Regions from separate parts of the Homo sapiens genome. Here region 1 is linked to region 2. Evidence: promoter capture Hi-C in 16 types of primary human blood cells and fetal thymus (Javierre and others, 2016). All regions are on one chromosome and are shown on one strand. The core of a region is centred on a gene start or on the middle of the fragment in contact, and the rest is flanking DNA. Distances in the headings are between cores, read along the strand shown.

The links. Contacts are between HindIII fragments. The CHiCAGO score rates a contact against its expected background, and 5 or more counts as called.
Region 1: a contact is called between a fragment that was not itself captured here and the fragment with the promoter of GPR45 in region 2, in 2 of 17 cell types (naive B cells and total B cells). The highest score is 6.1, in naive B cells.

The regions. Positions count from the first base shown.
Region 1 is chr2:105,130,016-105,134,699 of GRCh38, forward strand. No RefSeq gene overlaps it. Among named protein-coding and RNA genes, the nearest start is that of LINC01918, 12 kb to the right of the region's middle. The HindIII fragment of the contact is 706 bases long and covers 1,093-1,798 here.
Region 2 is chr2:105,239,306-105,243,918 of GRCh38, forward strand. It overlaps GPR45 (G protein-coupled receptor 45), which reads left to right and starts at 2,438. Exons shown (of 1, transcript NM_007227.3): 1 at 2,438-4,162. The coding sequence starts at 2,554. The coding sequence ends at 3,672. The HindIII fragment of the contact is 10,787 bases long and covers 2,227-4,613 here.

The sequences.
Region 1 (4,684 bases), core at 196-2,695, 110 kb before region 2:
AATGCCTGAATGCATCTAACATCTTACAGAGGATTGCTTATGAGTCCACCCAACCTTATGACTTGGGGAGTCTGCCAGGAACCAGCTCGTGATAGGTAATTCTTCCTGCCTGGTCACTGGTCACTTGCTGTTTTGTGGTCAGGAGACGTGACTCTACCAGGATGTAGTGGCATAGCAGAAGATGCTTGTCAAAAGACAGCATGGCCTCATTACAGAACCTCAGGGTCTTGTGACAAGATTCTTCCATTGGACCCTGTCACAAACTCCACACATCATCTTTTCCTACATTGATATTTCCAATACCGTAAGGTCCAAGTGGCATAAATTTTTGCCCTGAAGCCTAGACCCACTGCAGAGCCATTTCTCATTCTGGGCCCCACTCAAAGCTGGGAGAAATTTATGTTACTAGTACATGGGCAGAAGTGGTATAGAAGATGCCATGACACAGGCCCCCTCCAAAAACTAGAGAGGTCCACCATGCATTATACTTCCTTCTTCACCATGAGAGGTGCAAGATGGAATAATTTGTCTTTCATTTTGAAGGGATGTTCCAGCATGTTTCTGTCCATAGAACCCCTAAAAATGTTACCAATGTGGCCAGTCCTCAAATCTCTGTAGGGGTTTTTCTCCCACCTTCTGGAGCACATGTGCCTTACCAAGGCCTCCAATGTCCTAGCCACCTCCTGCTTATCTAGCCCAGTCAACATGATGTCAGCTATGTAATGGATCAATGCAGATGGTCCAGATAGTGCAGATATCTTCAGACAACATTACAACAGAGAGTGAGTTAACATAACCTCAGGGGAAACTGTATATGTATATTGTTGTCTGTTCCATGTGAAAGTGAACTATTTCTGATCCTCTTTTTCTAATTGTGATAGAAAATAACACATTTGCTGGATCAATGGCTGCATAGCATGTGCCTCATTTTGAATCGCTGCTGTATTCTGGATATTTATGTCTACCCAAAATTCATATGTTGAAACGCTAACACCCAAAGCGATGGCATTAGGAGGTACAGCCATTGGGAGGGGATTAGGTCATGAAGGCAGAGCCCTCATGAATGAGATTAGTTAGTGCCCTAATAAAAGAAGCTTGAGAGAGACTCCTTGCCTCTTCCACAATGTACAGACACAGTGAGAAGCACCATCTATGAACCAGAAAGTGAATCGATACCAAATCTGCCAATGCTTTGATCTCGGACTACTCAGCCTCCAGAACTGTGAGAAATAAATTTCTGTTCTTGCAAGCTACCCAGTTTAAAGTATTTTGTTAAAGCAGCTCAAAGAGACTAAGGCCATCACCCTGCTTTAGCAAAGCCACCTCACCTAATGCAGCAGCTGCAATCAGGGCATGACTTGGTTGAACCTGTGGTATATCTATAGTCTTCCTCCAGGATCCAACCAGTTTAACTGGTGATCAAAAGGAGATATGATAGGGCTTACAATCTCTGTATCCTTTACACTCTTAAAAGTGTCCCTAATATCTGCATTGCCACCACCTCATGCAATATTATTTATGACCAACTATCTTGTCTGGGTGGAAAGGTGGGCAGTTTCAGAGGTTTCCACTTGGCCATTCTCGCAGTACCTCTTACCCCACAGGCCAAGGACCCAAAGTGAGGGCTGCATCAACTGCTAAATATGTTGATCTAATTATATATTTTGGAAATAAAAGTCATCCAAATTGCAAAGGAAGAAGTAAAACTGTCTCTATTTTCAGATAACATAATCCTACATATAGAAAATTCCAAAGAATCTACATGGAAGCTACTAGAGCTAATAAATACATTCAGCAAAGCTTCAGGGTACAAGATCAACACATAAAAATCAGTTTTGTTTCTAAACACTTGCAATGAACAATCCAAAAAGAAAATTAAGAAGATGGTTTCACTTATAATGACCTAAAAGGAATAATATACCAGAGAATAAAATTAACCAAGGAAGTGAAAGACTTGCACACTGAAAACTAAAAAACATGTTGAAAGAAGGGAGATCTAAATAGATGAAAAGACATCCCGTGTTCTAGATGGAAAGACTTAATATTGTTAAGATAATAACACTACCCAAAGCAATCTAGAGATTTAACACCATCCTTGTTCAAATTCCAACAGTGTTCTTTGCAGAACTGGGAAAGCCAACCCTCAAATTTATATGTAATTGCAAGGGACCCCAAATAGCCACACAATCTTGGAAAAAATGAACAAAGGTGGAAGACCCACATCTCCTGATTTCAAAACTTACTATAAAGCTAAAGTAATCAAAGCAATATGGTACTGGCATAAAGATAGACACACTGACCAATGGAATAGAATTGAGAGTCCAGAAATTAATCATACATGTGTGGCCAATTGATTTTTGATAAGGTGCCAACTCTGTCAATGGGGAAAGAATAGTCTCTCCAACAAATGGTGCTGGGACAACTGGATTTCCACATTCAAAAGAATGAAGTTAGACCCCCTACCTCACATATAAATAAAACTTAGCTCAAAAAAGATCAATGATCTAAATATAAGAAAGAAACCTATAAAAATCTTAGAAGAGGCCGGGCGCGGTGGCTCACGCCTGTAATCCCAGCACTTTGGGAGGCCGAGGTGGGCGAATCACGAGGTCAGGAGATCGAGACCATCCTGGCTAACACGGTGAAACCCCGTCTCTACTAAAAATACAAAAAAATTAGCCAGGCATGGTAGCGGGCGCCTGTAGTCCCAGCTACTTGGGAGGCTGAGGCAGGAGAATGGCGTGAACCTGGGAGGCGGAGCTTGCAGTGAGCCAAGATCTCACCACTGCACTCCAGCCTTGGCGACAGCGAGACTCCGTCTCAAAAAAAAAAAAAAAAAAAATCTTAGAAGAAAACATAGGGGTGAGTCTTCATAACCTTGGATTGGGCACTGGGCTTTTAGGGGAGAATCCATTCCTTGTATTCTTCAGCTTCTAGGGGCATCTGCTTTCCTCTGCTCATGACCCTTTCCCAGGAGTGGTATTACTCCAACCTCCACTTCTGTCATCACAGCTCCTTCTCTGACTGACCAAAAGCATAAGTGACAAATGAAAAAATAAATTGGACTTCATCAAACTGTACAACTTTTTCCATCTAAGGATGATTGTTAAGAGGGTAAAAAAACAGCCTATGGAATAGAAGAAAATATTTGGAAATTATTTATCTGATGAGGATTAATATCCTGAATATATAAAGAACTCTTAACACTCAACAATAAAAAGACAAACAACACAATTAAAAAACAGCAAAGGACTTGAATAGACATTTCTCCAAAGAAATATATATATGGCCAATAAGCACATGAAAATATACCTAATATCTTAAGTCATTAGGGAAACACAAATCAAAGCCACAATGAGATACCACTTCATGCCTACAAGGATGACTATAATAACAATAATCAGAATGTAACAAGTGTTGGCAAGGATGTGGAGATATTAGAATTGTTAGTGGTATGGAAAATAGTTTGACACTTCCTTAAAATGCTGAACATATAATCATCATACGACTCAGCAATTTCACTCCTAGGTTTATACCCAAAATAATTCAGAACAAGACTCAAACAGATACTGGTACAGCAATATTCACAGCAGCATTATTTACAATAGCCAAAAGGTGGAAGCAATTCAAGTGTTCATCAATGAATGAATGGATACACAAAATGTGGCATATACACATAGTGGAATGTTATCTGGCCAGAATAAGGAAAGAAGTTCTCACACATGCTACAGTGTGGCTGAACTTTGAAGACACTGTGTTGAATGAAACAAGCCAGACACAAAAGGACAAATATTGTATAATTCCACTTATATGATCTATCTAGATTAGGCAAGCAGAATGTACATTAGAGGTTACCAGCAGCTGCAGGGAGGGGAAGATGGGGAGTTATTGCTTAATGGTTCCAGAATTTTGGTTTAGGATCATGAAAAAGTTCTGGAAATAGGTAGTGATGATGGTTGCAAAACATTGTGAATGGAATTAATGCCACTGAATTTTCTACTTATAAATGGTTAACATACCAAATTTTATGTTTGATTATTTTACCAGAGGTAGATGGCACTGCAGTCACAGTCAGGGACATTGGTGAAAGGAAATCTTCCCAAAACTTCAGGTCATACATCAGCATGTCCACTTGTGTGGATGAAGAGGTCTGGATCTACACTGATTCACAAGCGGTGACTTATGGGATGAAAGAACAAAATTAGAGAGCTGGTGGCAAGGAGCTCTTGGAGAAAGGAATGTGAATAAAGCTCTTGGAATGTGAAGTAATTCACAATCCAAGGGAATCCTCCCAAGAGACCAGAATCAAGGCCCTCATACAATAATCAGGTTCACAAGATGGCATGTCCTGTAGCTGTCAGTCAGCCCGTTTCCCTACCACACTGTACAATTACAAAGTGGCCCTGGGGGCAGGATGAGAGTTGTGCAGGACTGAAAAACGGGGCCTTCTCCCTACTAATATGGATCTGGGTACTTCCAATAGTACGCAGCTGAGTCCCTGATATGGCACCATTCTCCTGGGGAGCTGGAACATACAGTGGGCAACGTGCTACCTCTTGAGGGGTTTATCACGCTGGCCTCTGTCATCATAGAGGAGATAGCAATCTGTCTTCAAAAGGATAAACTCATAATCTAGGTATGAATTTGCCTCTCCTGTCCTCAGGGTTCTGCCAGACCCTCAGAG
Region 2 (4,613 bases), core at 1,188-3,687:
TAAAAGCACTGTTGATTCAGATATTAACAACAGGACTGTGACCAAAATGCTAAATTAAAATACCTAAGACAGGTTGTTGTCCAGAAGCCAAAAGAATTTTAATCAGATTCAACCACAAGACATATACATTAAAAAAAATACCTTGCACTATTTGTTCCTTTAATTAAGCATGAAATCACTCTCTGTAACTATCATTGTGGGGAAAATCTAAGTTTATAGCATGGAGAGGAATGCAGATGAAGGATTCACTATCGGCTAAGATTGACAGGCACATGGATGCACGATACTGTGTTTTTTCTCAGTGGTCCTTTATTCTGTGCTCCAAGAGGAGCTTAATCCATTAGGGCTTCCTACATGCATGTCATGGTTCCTGCCATGAACAAATTTGCAGTTTAATCCAAGAGACAGAAACCCCTAAACTTGAAACAGTGAGGGAGATGGAGTTAATTTATTAATGCCCTTCTTTTACCAGACATTGCACATTATATTTACCAACTCTGGAGGTAAATATGTAATTACCTCCATTTCACAGATCAGAAAATTGAGATGAAGAAGGGTCATAATTTTGGTCTGAATGAGAGATAATTCCCACTTATAAATTAACACACCAGGTTTCTGATTTTTATAGCTCAGAAAAAGTTTGGATACTGGTGCCCACCACTGAGAGATGAACCCATTCTGGGTGTGTTTGGGAAGGAAGACCAAGGATTGGTTGGGTCTAAACTGAAGTATAGCATCACCAAGACACTGCCACTCCCAGGTCCTCTAAGCCTGCTCTGAGGCCTCCTGGCTTCTTACATTGCCCACATTCCTCTCAGTGTGAGTTATCTGTAACAATGACCACAAGGAATTTAGAAAAGAGAAATTTCTTACAAGAAGAGGTGCATCCAACAGCCAGATGTCCAGGGTGGATAAATGGCGCAGGCTGGATTTCCCCCAGCCCAGGCGATGTGACTTCAGACCTGAGCTACTGAACACACTCTTGCCACATCAGTGAGACAAAATTAAAATTATATTTATCTTTTTGAAAGTGAAAGCAAGTTTATCAAGAATGTAAGGAATAAAAGCTCATTTCATTTACTTTTTTTTTAAGAGACAGGGTCTCACTCTGTTACCCAGGCTGGAGTACAGTGACACCTTCTTAGCTCACGACAGCCTCGAACTTCTGTGCTTGAGCAATCCTCCTGCCTCGGCCTCCTGAGTAGCAGGGACTATAGATGGAAGCCTGGCTCATTTTTTTGTGTGTGTAGAGATGGGATCTCTCTATGTTGCCCAGGCAGGTCTTGAACTCCTGGCCTCAAGCAATCCTCCTGTCTCTGCCTCTCAAAGTGCTGGGATTATAGGCATGAGCCACTGCACCCAGCTAACATTGTATTTTAAAAGGCCTTACCTTTGGGGAAAGTTCCCTTCTCCCAGTCTGTGCTTCCAGAAGTAATAGTATAGCAGCCCCACAGTTATCCAAGATGTTACCATTAGGGAAAACTGGGTGAAGGACACACAGAATTTCACCATAGTATTTATTATTATAACTCCATGTGAATTTACACTTATCCATGTGAATTTACACTTATCAAATAAAGTTAAACAAACAGACTTACAATTTCTTTTAAAAAATTAAAACTTAAAAATGTATACTTAAAATTTGCTAAGAGGGCAGATCTTAGGTGAAGTATTCTTACCACCAAAACAAAATGATAATACTAGAAAAATGGCAGGAGAGAGCTTTGGCAGGGGGAGTGGGATATGTTTTTGGCCTTGGTGGTGATGGGTTTCTGGTATATTGAGATGTAAATTTGTACAGCTTTTGACATGTCAGTCATTCCTCGATGAAGTGGGGTTTTTTAAAGCTAAACAAATATTATAGCAGCAGCATCAACTATCACTTATTCATCTACTCAACAAGCATCCAAGTGTCCTCAACAAGGACACTTACTGCATGCCAGCCACTGTTGTCAGTACTGGGAGATAGCAGAGAATGAAACAAGCAAAACCTTTCTCTTGTGGAGCAGGATTCTAACGTTAGTTGGCTAGACCAAGGCTTCATTCCGACAGGTTGCTGAAAACTCAAGTTATTACATAAACACTAACTACAAAGTGTACTTCCTCAGTTTCCTCAGAAGATAGCTGATTAGGTTTTTCTGGGCTGCTTGACAAGACTCAGACAGTATTTGTGAATATCAAGCTTTGTCCCACGTGGTAAATAAACTTGTTTAGAAACACCTGTAAAGCTTAAACGCGTGCTTTCTTCAACGCGTTTGGAAACTCTAACCCCCTTCTCTTTTGTACTTTTGCTTGCTGTCCACTACAGAGGGTCCAAGCACGAAGCTGTGCACAGAGTCGCTCTCCACAGAGATGCTTAGGATGTGATCCATGAATCGCAAATCCCAGCTAGTGCTCACAAAGACGGACATTTCTCCCCAAGACCATTCCAGTGCCCCAGAGGTCCACAGACATCCAGGAAGATGCAGCCAGCAGACAAAGAATGGCAGCCACCCAAGTGCTGAGGGGAGCCCTCCCGGCCATTTCTGTCCCAGCTCCAAGGGTCTCTCCACGATGGCCTGCAACAGCACGTCCCTTGAGGCTTACACATACCTGCTGCTGAACACCAGCAACGCCTCAGACTCGGGGTCCACCCAGTTGCCCGCACCCCTCAGGATCTCCTTGGCCATAGTGATGCTGCTGATGACCGTGGTGGGGTTCCTGGGCAACACTGTGGTCTGCATCATCGTGTACCAGAGGCCGGCTATGCGCTCGGCCATCAACCTGCTGCTGGCCACCCTGGCCTTCTCCGACATCATGCTGTCCCTCTGCTGCATGCCCTTCACCGCCGTCACCCTCATCACCGTGCGCTGGCACTTTGGGGACCACTTCTGCCGCCTCTCAGCCACGCTCTACTGGTTTTTTGTCCTGGAGGGCGTGGCCATCCTGCTCATCATCAGCGTGGACCGCTTCCTCATCATCGTCCAGCGCCAGGACAAGCTGAACCCGCGCAGGGCCAAGGTGATCATCGCGGTCTCCTGGGTGCTGTCCTTCTGCATCGCGGGGCCCTCGCTCACGGGCTGGACGCTGGTGGAGGTGCCGGCGCGGGCCCCACAGTGCGTGCTGGGCTACACGGAGCTCCCCGCTGACCGCGCCTACGTGGTCACCTTGGTGGTGGCCGTGTTCTTCGCGCCCTTTGGCGTCATGCTGTGCGCCTACATGTGCATCCTCAACACGGTCCGCAAGAACGCCGTGCGCGTGCACAACCAGTCGGACAGCCTGGACCTGCGGCAGCTCACCAGGGCGGGCCTGCGGCGCCTGCAGCGGCAGCAACAGGTCAGCGTGGACTTGAGCTTCAAGACCAAGGCCTTCACCACCATCCTGATCCTCTTCGTGGGCTTCTCCCTCTGCTGGCTGCCCCACTCCGTCTACAGCCTCCTGTCTGTGTTTAGCCAGCGCTTTTACTGCGGTTCCTCCTTCTACGCCACCAGCACCTGCGTCCTGTGGCTCAGTTACCTCAAGTCCGTCTTCAACCCCATCGTCTACTGCTGGAGAATCAAAAAATTCCGCGAGGCCTGCATAGAGTTGCTGCCCCAGACCTTCCAAATCCTCCCCAAAGTGCCTGAGCGGATCCGAAGGAGAATCCAGCCAAGCACAGTCTACGTGTGCAATGAAAACCAGTCTGCGGTTTAGGGGGTCAGGGGGCCACAGAGAAGGGGCAGCTGAGCCCCAGTCCCAGGGTGGATCTGTCCTGCTCTGTTCCCTGGCATGTTGGTCATAGTCTGCACTTTGTGGTGGCAATTTAAGCACAAAGGTACTCATTTGTAATCAGATGAGCTGCAGCTCCCAAATTTCAAATTTTGGCACGATGAATTATTTTTGTTTCTCTTTGCAGAGAGCCAAATATGGGGCTGATGGGAACTGCAACGTCATTAAGTCAAAAATGGAGTGGGCTGGGGAGTGCAGAAGTTGGGCAGAAAGGGAGGAGGAGGGCAACAGGGAATGAAGCTGGTTGAGTGTGGGGCAGGAGGACTGGTCAGTCACAAGAGCTTCAACCTGCCCTGCGAGCCCTCTCTGCACCTGCTCAAGAGAAACCCTGAGAAACCCCAGTAGGTGTGAGCTCCTGGGTGTTCATTCATTTTGTTTGACACCAGGGTTCTTCAGCTATTGATGTTTGTGGTGTGTGGGGACTCACATGAGGTTCTTTATGTTGATCAGATGTGCATTTCTTCCCATGCCTAAGTATCTTTTCTAGAAAGAAACCAAAATCACACGGGGAAGCAGAGTGAGCCTCTGTGCTTTGAGCTCCCTGCAATGACGCATGGGAGGCCTCAGAGGCTTGAAGCCCAGAGAAGGTCCTGGGCAGCCCAGCTGAAGTGAGAAGCACATCCGGGAACTCCTGCATGTCCCCAGCGCCCCCCACCTGCTGGGCCCACCCCGTCCCTGCACCCTGAGGCCACTAGGCCTCCCTGTCTGCTGGAGAGCCCCTTGGCCCTTCCCTCTTTCCTCCACCCCTCTCCCTGCCTCCCTTCGTTTTCCTCCCATCCATATCCAGTGTGCTATAGCTCACCCGCTGAGCAAGCATCTGTAGTGACCTGCTTTCAGTGTCAGCAGTGAGCAGGCTGGGCTTAGTT